3 separate regions of the Homo sapiens genome follow, and all the other regions are linked to region 2. The links are contacts of gene promoters, found by promoter capture Hi-C in blood cells and fetal thymus (Javierre and others, 2016). All regions are on one chromosome and are shown on one strand. Each heading gives the region's core, a stretch centred on a gene start or on the middle of the fragment in contact. The rest is flanking DNA. Distances are from core to core; before and after follow the strand shown. Region 1 has its middle 7.1 kb from the start of LINC01849. Region 2 holds the start of NPAS2 (neuronal PAS domain protein 2). Region 3 overlaps NPAS2 (neuronal PAS domain protein 2).

Region 1 (3,286 bases), core at 379-2,878, 220 kb after region 2:
GTATTTTTTTCATTGTGCGCCTAAGTCAAAAGAAATACAGTTGACCCTTGAACAACAGGGATTTGAACTGCCTGGATCCACTTACATGTGACTTTTCTTCAACCAAATGCCAATTGAAAATACAATATTTAGGCCGGGCGCGGTGGCTCACGCCTGTAATTCCAACACTTTGGGAGGCCAAGGCGGGCAGATCACGAGGTCAGGAGATCAAGACCACCCTGGCTAACACGGTGAAACCCCATCTCTACTAAAAAATACAAAAAATTAGCTGGGCGTGGTGGCGGGTGCCTGCAATCCCAGCTACTTGGGAGGCTGAGGCAGGAGAATGGCGTGAACCCGGGAGACAGAGCTTGCGGTGAGCCAAGATTGCGCCACTGCACTCCAGCCTAGGCTACAGAGCAAGACTCTGTCTCAAAAAAGAAAAGAAAAGAAAAGAAAAGAAAAGAAAAGACAGTATTCTCCGGATGTTAAACCTGCCTATAAGACCTTTTAGGGCCAGGTGCATTGACTCATGCTTGTAATCTCAGCACTTTGGGAGGCTAAGATGGGTGGATTACCAGAGGTCAGGAGTTTGAGACCAGCTTGGCCAACATGGCGAAATCCCATTTCTATTAAAAATACAAAAAATAGCCGAGTGTGGTGGTGCACACCTGTAATCCCAGCTACCTGCAACGCTGAGGCAGGAAACCTGCTTGAACCCAGGAGAGGGAGGTTGCAGTGAGCCGAGATTACACCACTGCACTCCATCCTGGGCAACAGAGCGAGACTCTGTCTCAAAAAGACAAAAAACAAAACAAAACAAAACCTTTTATTTATTTATTTATTTATTTATTTATTTATTTATTTATTTATTTTTGAGATGGAGTCTTGTTCTGTTGCCCAGGCTGGAGTGCAGTGACATGACCTCAGCTCACTGCAACCTCCACCTCCCAGGGTCTTCAAGCAATGTTCCTGCCTCAGCCTCCTGAGTAGCTGGGACTACAGGCCTGCACCACCACGGCTGGCTAATATTTGTATTTTTAGCAGAGATGGGATTTTCTTATGTTGGCCAAGCTGATCTTGAACTCTTGACCTCGAGTCATCTGCTCACCTTGGCCCCCCACAGTGCTGGGATTACAGGCGTGAGCCAACACACCCAGCCTAAAAACACCTTTTCGTATAGGCAGGTTCTGCAGGGCTGACTGCAGGATTGAGTACGAGGATTTGGTTATTTGCTGGTGGTCCTGGCACCAATCCCCCGCATACACTCAGCGAGACTGTAACGACTTTTATTAAGCAGTTAGCGCCAAACAATTTATTTTTATTTTTATTTTTGTCAAACAATTTATTAAGGTTTTATGTCTTAAACTTTTAGATGCTTGACCAAATATATATGAAAAGTGAAAGGAAAATTACCTATTAATGTGAGTAAGTACCTGTTGGATGCTGCATAAGTCCTCCAACCTTGAAATTGGAGATACCTCTCCCTCATATCCTGCTCCACATTGATTTGAGCTCTACCTGCTTTTATCACAGCAACCGCTAAAAACCCAACTTCAGAAAGATCAAAGGAATGTAGCGCAAGCTAATATTGGAACTGCGAACTGTTGGGAGCTGGTGGTTCCTGAAGTATTCAATAAATGTTCAGTATTGCAGCGCTTCCCTTGAGAACTTATCCTGTGCCCACGAACTTGCTACTGGGTTCAGAGGCACTTCAGCAAATGGTTTAGGAACTGCAGCATTAATTTATACTGAGAAATAGAACTGCTACTTAAGAAAGATAACTGCCGGCCCAATGCGGTGGCTCACGCCTGTAATCCCAGCACTTTGGGAGGCCGAGGCTGGCGGATCACGAGGTCAGGAGATCGAGACCATCCTGGCTAACAGGGTGAAACCCTGTCTCTACCAAAAATAGAAAAAATTAGCCGGGTTTGGTGGGGGGCGCCTGTAGTCCCAGCTACTCGGGAGGCTGAGGCAGGAGAATGGCAAGAACCTGGAAGGCGGAGCTTGCAGTGAGCCGAGATCGCACCACTGCACTCCAGCCTGGGGGACAGAGCGAGACTCCATCTCAAAAAAAAAAAAAAAGAAAAAAAGAAAAACAAGAAAAGATAACTGCCAAGGGTACTGGACTTCTCACTTTTTTTGTTCCCAATAAGATTGAGAAACCAAATCAGAGTCAGAAAGCCTTTGGTGCCCAGAGAGATAATGTGGGGATGATAGATCCACCCCGACATGGATCTAGTTATTGCAGTTACTCTGTGTGTGTGTGTGTGCGTGTGTGTGTGTGTGTGCGTGTGTGTGTGTGTGTGTGGGTGTGTCTGGGTGCAGGCACGTAATACATTGTTTCATTTAGGTATCTCAAATCTCAGATGGAACAAAAAGTTGCAAGTTTGTGATGCTTTTCTGTAACATTTGCTAAAAGACAAAGGATTGATTTGTTAATTATTCAACTTTTTATTAAGTATAATTTTCATGTAAAACATGTAGCTGTATTTTGCAAGGTTTCTTTAAATTTTTCTGATTGTCATCTCAGAGAGAGTTACTTACCAAAGAAAAGTACTGGTTTTTAATTTTTTTTTTAAAGTTGTATTTTATATATATTCCAGGGATATTAACAGCCTTTTTCTTCTCAGGAAGTTGGTATATTCAGTATTTTAAATGTCAATAAACAGATTCAGGGAGTTAAAGATCTGCCTTCAAAATTAAAAGCTAGAAGGGTCAGGTTAAAATAACCTAACACACCTTCATCTATTGTGGGATAAAACTACAACATTTCATGGGTTCTAAGCATCCTCCCCTCATTGTTAATATCTCTGAGGTCAGGGTGCATCTTATGGTTACTGTGGCAGGTGGCAGCTGTGATCAAGTTGTCACAGGCCAGGCGCGGTGGCTCACGCCTGTAATCCCAGCACTTTGGGAGGCCAAGGCGGGTGGATCACGAGGTCAGGAGATCGAGACCATCCTGGCCAATATGGTGAAACTCTGTCTCTACTAAAAATACAAAAATTAGCCAGGCATGGCAGTGCATGCCTGTAATCCCAGCTACTCAGGAGGCTGAGGCAGGAGAATCGCTTGAACCAGGAGTCGGAGGTTGCAGTGAGCTGAGATTGCACCACAGCACTCCAGTCTGGCGACAGAGTGAGACTCCGTCTCGAAAAAAGAAAAAAAGAAAAAGAAAGTTGTCACTGCATGCCACCTTCTGGTGGGATCAAGAAAGCACCAGCATCAAAACTAGCAGAAAAGACACTAGAGCTGGACTCTGAATGGAAGGACATTTTTAGGAATACCTTTACCAACTTACAGGAAG
Region 2 (3,110 bases), core at 69-2,568:
CAGGCTAACCACTTTAATGAAGTTGGGGTGGATGCCAAAGCAACGCGTAAAGACGAAACTCCTCTCCGGGACCCTCCTGAACACCTGTTGAACTCCAGGGCTTCTAACTTTCCGTACTAAAGCCTCCCGGACACAAGCTCGGGAGTGTTTAGACTTTGTGGAAGTGCGTGCGTATATTCAAGGTTTCCATCTTGCTTAATCAACAAAACTAGTTACTAATTATTTATGAATCACAGGGCTGAAACAAACTTTCTTACCTTGAGCAATTAAGGAGTGGCAAGCAGAGGAGCGGGACTGGTTCTGAATTTAGCCGGGTGGTGCCTGTCCCTTCCCTGGTTACCGACCTGCCCAGCTCTTCAGAAAGGTCAAAGGTGCGTCCCTCCTCGGCTGGGAAAGGGGCACATCTCCCAACAAAACCATACGCATACATCCAACCTGGGGAGCTCCGGAGTTGGGGTGGGGGGGCGGCAGCGACGTGAGGAGCCAGGCTGCACGCTGTCTGCGCACACGGGGGTTGGGGGCACCGATTCCGCACCCAATCCGGCCCGGAACCAATTCCGACCCAGGGACTCCGAGAGACCGCGGGCCCAGGGCGCGCACGCCGCACTCTCCGGGGGTCCAGGACGCCCGACGTTTCGGAGGGTAGCGCGATGGGTCTCGAAGACAACCACGGGCAATCCCCAAAGCTGTTGCCCTGGGGCACGATCCTTCTCCACCCTGTCGGACACCCCGAGGACCCCCAAATTCCGAGGCTCGGATGCCCAGTCCTCTGTCTTCTGCGTCGAGACGCGCCCGGAGCCCACCGGCCCAGCGATTGCTACCTCCTGCAGGACGCGAAGCCCCCAGCGGCCTGACTGTGGAGGGGAACCCACCTCTCCGCGCCCCCGCGTCCGGGGTCCCCGGTGCCGCGCAGCCTCGCGCCTGAGCGCCCCTCCGCCCCCGCGCGTCCTCCACGCTGGCGAGCAGGTGACCGAGTCCTGCGACCCCGCGCGCACGTACTACCCACCCTGGGTCCCCCGCGCCCCTAGGCGCGGCCCCTTACCTCGGAGCGGGCCGGAGCGGCCCCGCGGGGCCGGGCGCGGACTGGGCCGGGGAGACGCGCCTCCCGCCGCCGCTGGGAGACGAGGCGGCGAGCGGGCGCGGCGAGCTCCTCCCGGGCGGCGGCGGGAGGCGCTGCTCTAGCTGCTGCCGCCGCCGCCGCCGCCGCCGCGGCTGCGGGTCTCCGGGCTCCGCGGCCGCCGCTCCTGGGCCGCAGCCGCGCGGGTCCCTCGGCTCCTGCGAGAGGCCGGCTGCTCGCGCGGCAAACTCTTCCGCACGCAGAGCCGGCGGGGAGAGCCGCCTCCGCCTCTGCCTCCTCCCCTGCCTCCTCCCTCCACCCTCCTCCCTCTCCACCTCCCCCTCCTACCCCCACCCTCCTCCTCCTCCCCTCGCCTGCCTCCGCCTGCGGGGTCTCTCCTGGCCCCGACCCAGCCTGGGACAAGCACCCCGCGCGCGCCGCAGGCAGACGGACCCCCGGCCCCCTAGACCCCCGGCTTCCCTGGGCGGCGCAGACACCCGCGAGTCCCCAGGCCGCCGCAGCCTCTGCTGGGCTGCCAGGGACGCGCGGCGGGGTCGGGCCTGGGGCGCAGGGTCGGGGTTGGGCGCCGGGGCTGGGGGAGGGGGGGGTTGTGCTTCCAGGTGAGCCGGCCCAGAGGAGAGGCAAGTGGACTAGAGGCTGCCAGCCGAGGTCCCATTAAAGTTGTCACTCGGGGGGAACAAGGAATCTGCCGCCCCCGCCTAGTGTAGACCCTCGCAGTGCGGGCCGCCACCCTGCTGTCCCGCGCAGGGGATGAAGGGGGACGAGCACGCGACTGTCACCCCCTCCACACTGTCCTCCAGGGGCAGGGTTGCGCGCAGGTCTCGACCCAGGGCACAAAGCGCGTCTCTGCGGGGACCACTGCGATTTCTCAATGAGCGGCGGGGGTGCGGCCCGGGGGCAGGTGGGAGGCGGGGGTCGGGGAAGATGCGGGCGAGCGGTGGTCGGCGGAGGACAGCAGCGACTGCTGGGGAGGAATAACCAGTGCCTGTCCTAAGGCGAACGTAGCTGGTCCGGAAAATGGGTCAAGGATGGAAAGGAACCGGCTAATTGCCCCCCTCCCCGGCAGGGGCACGTGGGGTGTGGGGCTGCGGCCAGGAGCGGGCACTTGGAGCTCCACTCTGCCTCTCCCTCCCCTCCTCCGCTGCCCTCCTCTCCTTTTGCACCAGTGCAGGAAATGTTCCACTGACCTACATATTTTTCCAAACATACGTGACCTTTTTTTTTTTTTCCTCTGTGGGAGGAGACAGGCGAGAATCCAAGAAAAAGAAGCTGGAGAGAGAGGCGCGCGCGAGAAACAGGGAGGATTTTACCAAGGTTCCCGCAAACGCCAAGCGGAGGGAGGCAGAGGTACAGGAATAATCCCCGGGTGCCGGGGCTGCTGTCTGATGCCCTTCGGGGCTCCAAGACAGAGCCGGTGAAAACCGGAGACCGTGTGCCCCGCCGAGGTCCGGAAACGTGGCCGGTTTCCCCTTCACCTGGGCGGCGGCGTTCACAGCGGGGAGGCGCCTGGGTGGAAGCCCGGGAGAGGGGAAAGGTCCCCCTGCCCGCTCCCACGAGGTCTCCGCTCCCCTGGCCTAGGTGCCTGGCCTGGCGCAGCGCTCCGAGCGTGGCAGCCTTTTCCGGACGTCTCTCCGTCCCTCTTACATTCCGGCAAGTGGCCCTGGAAGGAAAGCGCCCCCGCTGGCCCTTTTCTGTCATACTCGATTTTGTGGCCAGAAGGGGTCTCCTAGGGCCTTTGCCCCAAGCGCGCCAGGCCCCCGCGGTGGACTGGGGGTCGCCCCGGACGCTGTTCCTCTCGCTGTCTCGTCCTCTCCCTCGAGTTTGAGACGTGCCCTCTCCCTCGCAGATCCGACCAGCAGCGCCTTATTTGGGCATGCAACCCCACACCGTCAATTAGATCAAAACGCTCACACAGAGCTCCTTTTTACCCCCCCTGTAAAGTAGGTCATTCTCTTTATTTCCCACTTGTATTATTTGTGTCTAATTCTCCTCCTGAAAAATAATCAGCTGCAAGGAGCTTTGAGCATCCTAA
Region 3 (3,251 bases), core at 541-3,040, 150 kb before region 2:
ATTCTGTACACGAATCCCAGAACTTAAAGTTTAAAAAAAAAAAAAAAGAAAGGCATGCTGTCCTTCCAACTTTTCTTTCTTTGCCCTTCTCCAAGGCTCCTCTGTAGGCCAGCTTAAAACTAATTTACGTTCTTAAAATTTCCGTAGTCGGGGAGAAGACCATTTTCCCCTTCATCCTTGGGAACAGTGACCCCACAAAGGCAGCATCTATGAAACCCTGGGCATGCCGCGTCTCTTTAAAGTCCTGCTCACCCGCCCTGGGTGGAGGGCTCCCTGAGGCCAGCAGGGACCTCCCAGGAACCCGCGCCCACTGGCAGCCAGGCTGTTTTCCCAACACTGCCTCAGTTGCCAGCAGGGGTTTTTAAAGCATTAAAAATAAAGGGGAATATGTGTTTGAGTTATTTAGAGGTAAAATTTAAATTTTCTACTCAAAGCAGGAACAAGGGAAGGCTGTGGGCTGGATAGAGATGGGAAAATATGTAAGTAGGTCAGTGAAGCAGTCACTTACTAAGTAATATCCTGGCAGCCTGCGAGAGTCCATGAGGCGTTCAAAGGGGCCTGACTGAGAGCTTGAAAGGAGTCTCAGCCCTGGGAGGGCAGAGCCAGTGGTGCCTGGAAGCGAGCTGAGCTCTGGGAATTGTGCTGTTAACGGCAGGGGATGGCCTGGGCTTCATCTTCGAAATGGGGAACACCTGAGTGACTGCTGATCTGACTTGGCCATCAGGGGCCACGCCATCCTGCACCCCTCCCCCAGGTGCGACAAGGACGCAGCCGCACCCCTGCCCGTGCGCGGTACCTGACCACCGAGTGTGTGCACACGATGAACTCGGGCTTGGAGTTCCACTGATGGTAGGTGATGTAGTAGTGAGTCTGCAGCCAGATCCACTGCTGACCTTTGGTCAGAAACCGGTAGCAACACGACTTCCCTTTGCCAAACTGCATCACTGTCGGTAGAAAATGGATTCCGCATATAACCAATGTTAATATGAAAATGATCTTTTCCCCAAGAGTTATTGTAAAGATAAGCTTTCAAAAAAAAAGACAATACCAAACATGGCTTGTTTCCCCGGTTGCCCTGTATTTTAAGTGACTGTCAGGATCACGGTACACTGTCGTGAATTCTTAAACAGTGGAAGAGTGATCCATATACTTTCCCAAATGCTCAGACGCTTAAAGAGATCCTCAGATAAGGGCAGATGCAGACAGATTTTCAAACTGCAGGTTTAATGAAACAGAGGCTCAGGTTTGCCTGGTGCTCATCCTCCCGCCGCAGGCAGAGCTGTCTTTGGAGCTGCAGGAGCCCAGGAGAGAGCATCCAGAATTGGCCCGAAAACAGACCTGCCAGCCAGCAACCTCTGGACGGATTCTGTGGCTGCCAGTCAGCAGTTCATGCCCAGTCGACACAGTTCTCAAATAAAGAGTCGGGGACAGATGCCTCCACCCCAGGCTTCCCCCTTCCCCAGAGCTGCTTGCAGCCCCCCCATAGTGATGTCTGCTGGTGGCTTTTCTAGGGGTGTCCAGAGCAGAATGGATGCTGATGGTGTATCAAGCCTGGGCAGGGCAGAAAGATGGACTACGGATCCAAGGAAGAAGAATGATTTGGGTTTTATTGCCATAGTGCCTGGAACTTAGCACCTCTTTAGGTAAATGGTTAAGAGAAATCTCAACTAGGAAACTAACGCTACAAAAGGACACTGATGGCTGGGCACAGGGGCTCATGCCTGTAATCCCAGCACTTTGGGAGGCTGAGGCAGGCGGATCATGAGGTCAGGAGATCGAGACCATCCTGGCGAATACGGTGAGACCCCATCTCTACTAAAAATACAAAAAATTAGCCGGGTGTGGTGGCGGGCGTCTGTTGTCCCAGCTACTCACGAGGCTGAGGCAGGAGAATGGCGTGAACCCGGGAGGCGGAGCTTGCAGCGAGCCGAGACTGGGTGACAGAGTGAGACTCTGTCTCAAAAAAAAAAAAAAAAAAAAAAAAAAAGGACACTGACTTGGAGAATGTGATTATCTGAAGAGGAGATAAGCCCAGCAGATTGAGGGTGTGGGCTCCACAGGGCAAGGAGGTCTTGCCCAAGCCATGGAGAAGCCTTTCAATTGCTGAATGTAATTCTTCACTTCGGGATCTTGTTAAAATAGACACTCTGAGTAGGCCTGATTCTACAAGTGTAGCAAACTTCCCGTGATGCCTATGCAGTGTGGTCCTAGACCACGCTTTGAGGAGCAAGGAGTTACAGTTTTAATGATTAGCTTTAAATTCTAACAGCCGATCCAGATGGAACTCAAGCCTATTCTTCCTTCCCTCTCCACAGAAGAGAAAGTTCTAGCCAGGCACAGTGGCTTATGCCTGTAATCCAAGCATTTTGGGAGGCCGAGGTGAGCAGATCATTTGAAGTCAGGAGTTTGAGACCATCCTGACCAACATGGTGAAACCCTGTCTGTACTAAAAATACAAAAAATTAGCTGGGCGTGGTGGCACACACGCCTGTAATCCCAACTACTCTAGAGGCTGAGGTGGGAGAATTGCTTGAACCCAGAAGGTGAAGCTTGCAGTGAGCCGAGATTGCGCCACTGCACTCCAGCCTGGGTGACAGAGCGAGAATCTGTCTGTCTCAAAAAAAAAAAAAAAAAAAAAAGTTCTAATGGGTACTACAGGTGAGGCATCTTTTAAAGCACAATGTTAGTGGTCGATTCATGCATTAGGATCAATAGGTCAGTGTTCCTATTTCAAGTTAAGAGTTGGCACTGAAAATACAGCTGTAAGTGGTTAATTCTTGAAACCACTTGCTAAGTGAGAACTCGGACAAGCTTGTAATTCTCACTCCCCCACATCGTAAGTCCCATCCCCCATACATTTGCTAATGTGTTCGCCTCGTATGTGGCAAAGAGCCTTCCCTGAACCCCAGCTGTGAGGGTCCTCTTGAGTCCCCCAGTATGCTGTGTACATCCCCTTCAATGCACCGACCACATCCCACAAAGTCACCCATTTCTGGCTTTCCCAGAAGACCTGCCCTGCGGGACAGCAAGTAGGTACTGATCATCCCCATATGCCAGCCTACTCAGTATCTGGCCTATGGTTAGTGACCAATACTTATCTGCTGATGAAAGAACAGTTATGAGAATTCGGTATTTTATCTCTGAAATGTATTGCATAACTTAAAAAAAAAAATCCCTGCATCACCTTAATTTCTTAATTAGGTTTAAACAGGGCGCCTATCTGGATGACAGTGGGAAGGTGCTAGGGTTTG

What was found. Contacts are between HindIII fragments. The CHiCAGO score rates a contact against its expected background, and 5 or more counts as called.
Region 1: a fragment that was not itself captured here is called in contact with the fragment with the promoter of NPAS2 in region 2 in 3 of 17 cell types (naive CD4 T cells, non-activated CD4 T cells and activated CD4 T cells); the score reaches 6.2 in naive CD4 T cells.
Region 3: a fragment that was not itself captured here is called in contact with the fragment with the promoter of NPAS2 in region 2 in 1 of 17 cell types (endothelial precursors); the score reaches 6.4 in endothelial precursors.

What each region holds. Positions count from the first base shown.
Region 1 is chr2:100,594,947-100,598,232 of GRCh38, reverse strand. No RefSeq gene overlaps it. Among named protein-coding and RNA genes, the nearest start is that of LINC01849, 7.1 kb to the left of the region's middle. The HindIII fragment of the contact is 4,254 bases long and covers 1-3,286 here.
Region 2 is chr2:100,818,347-100,821,456 of GRCh38, reverse strand. NPAS2 (neuronal PAS domain protein 2) reads right to left here and starts at 1,318. Exons shown (of 21, transcript NM_002518.4): 1 at 1,043-1,318. The HindIII fragment of the contact is 7,542 bases long and covers 1-3,110 here.
Region 3 is chr2:100,965,974-100,969,224 of GRCh38, reverse strand. It overlaps NPAS2 (neuronal PAS domain protein 2), which reads right to left. Exons shown (of 21, transcript NM_002518.4): 11 at 797-944. Among named protein-coding and RNA genes, the nearest start is that of NPAS2-AS1, 9.6 kb to the left of the region's middle. The HindIII fragment of the contact is 1,523 bases long and covers 1,029-2,551 here.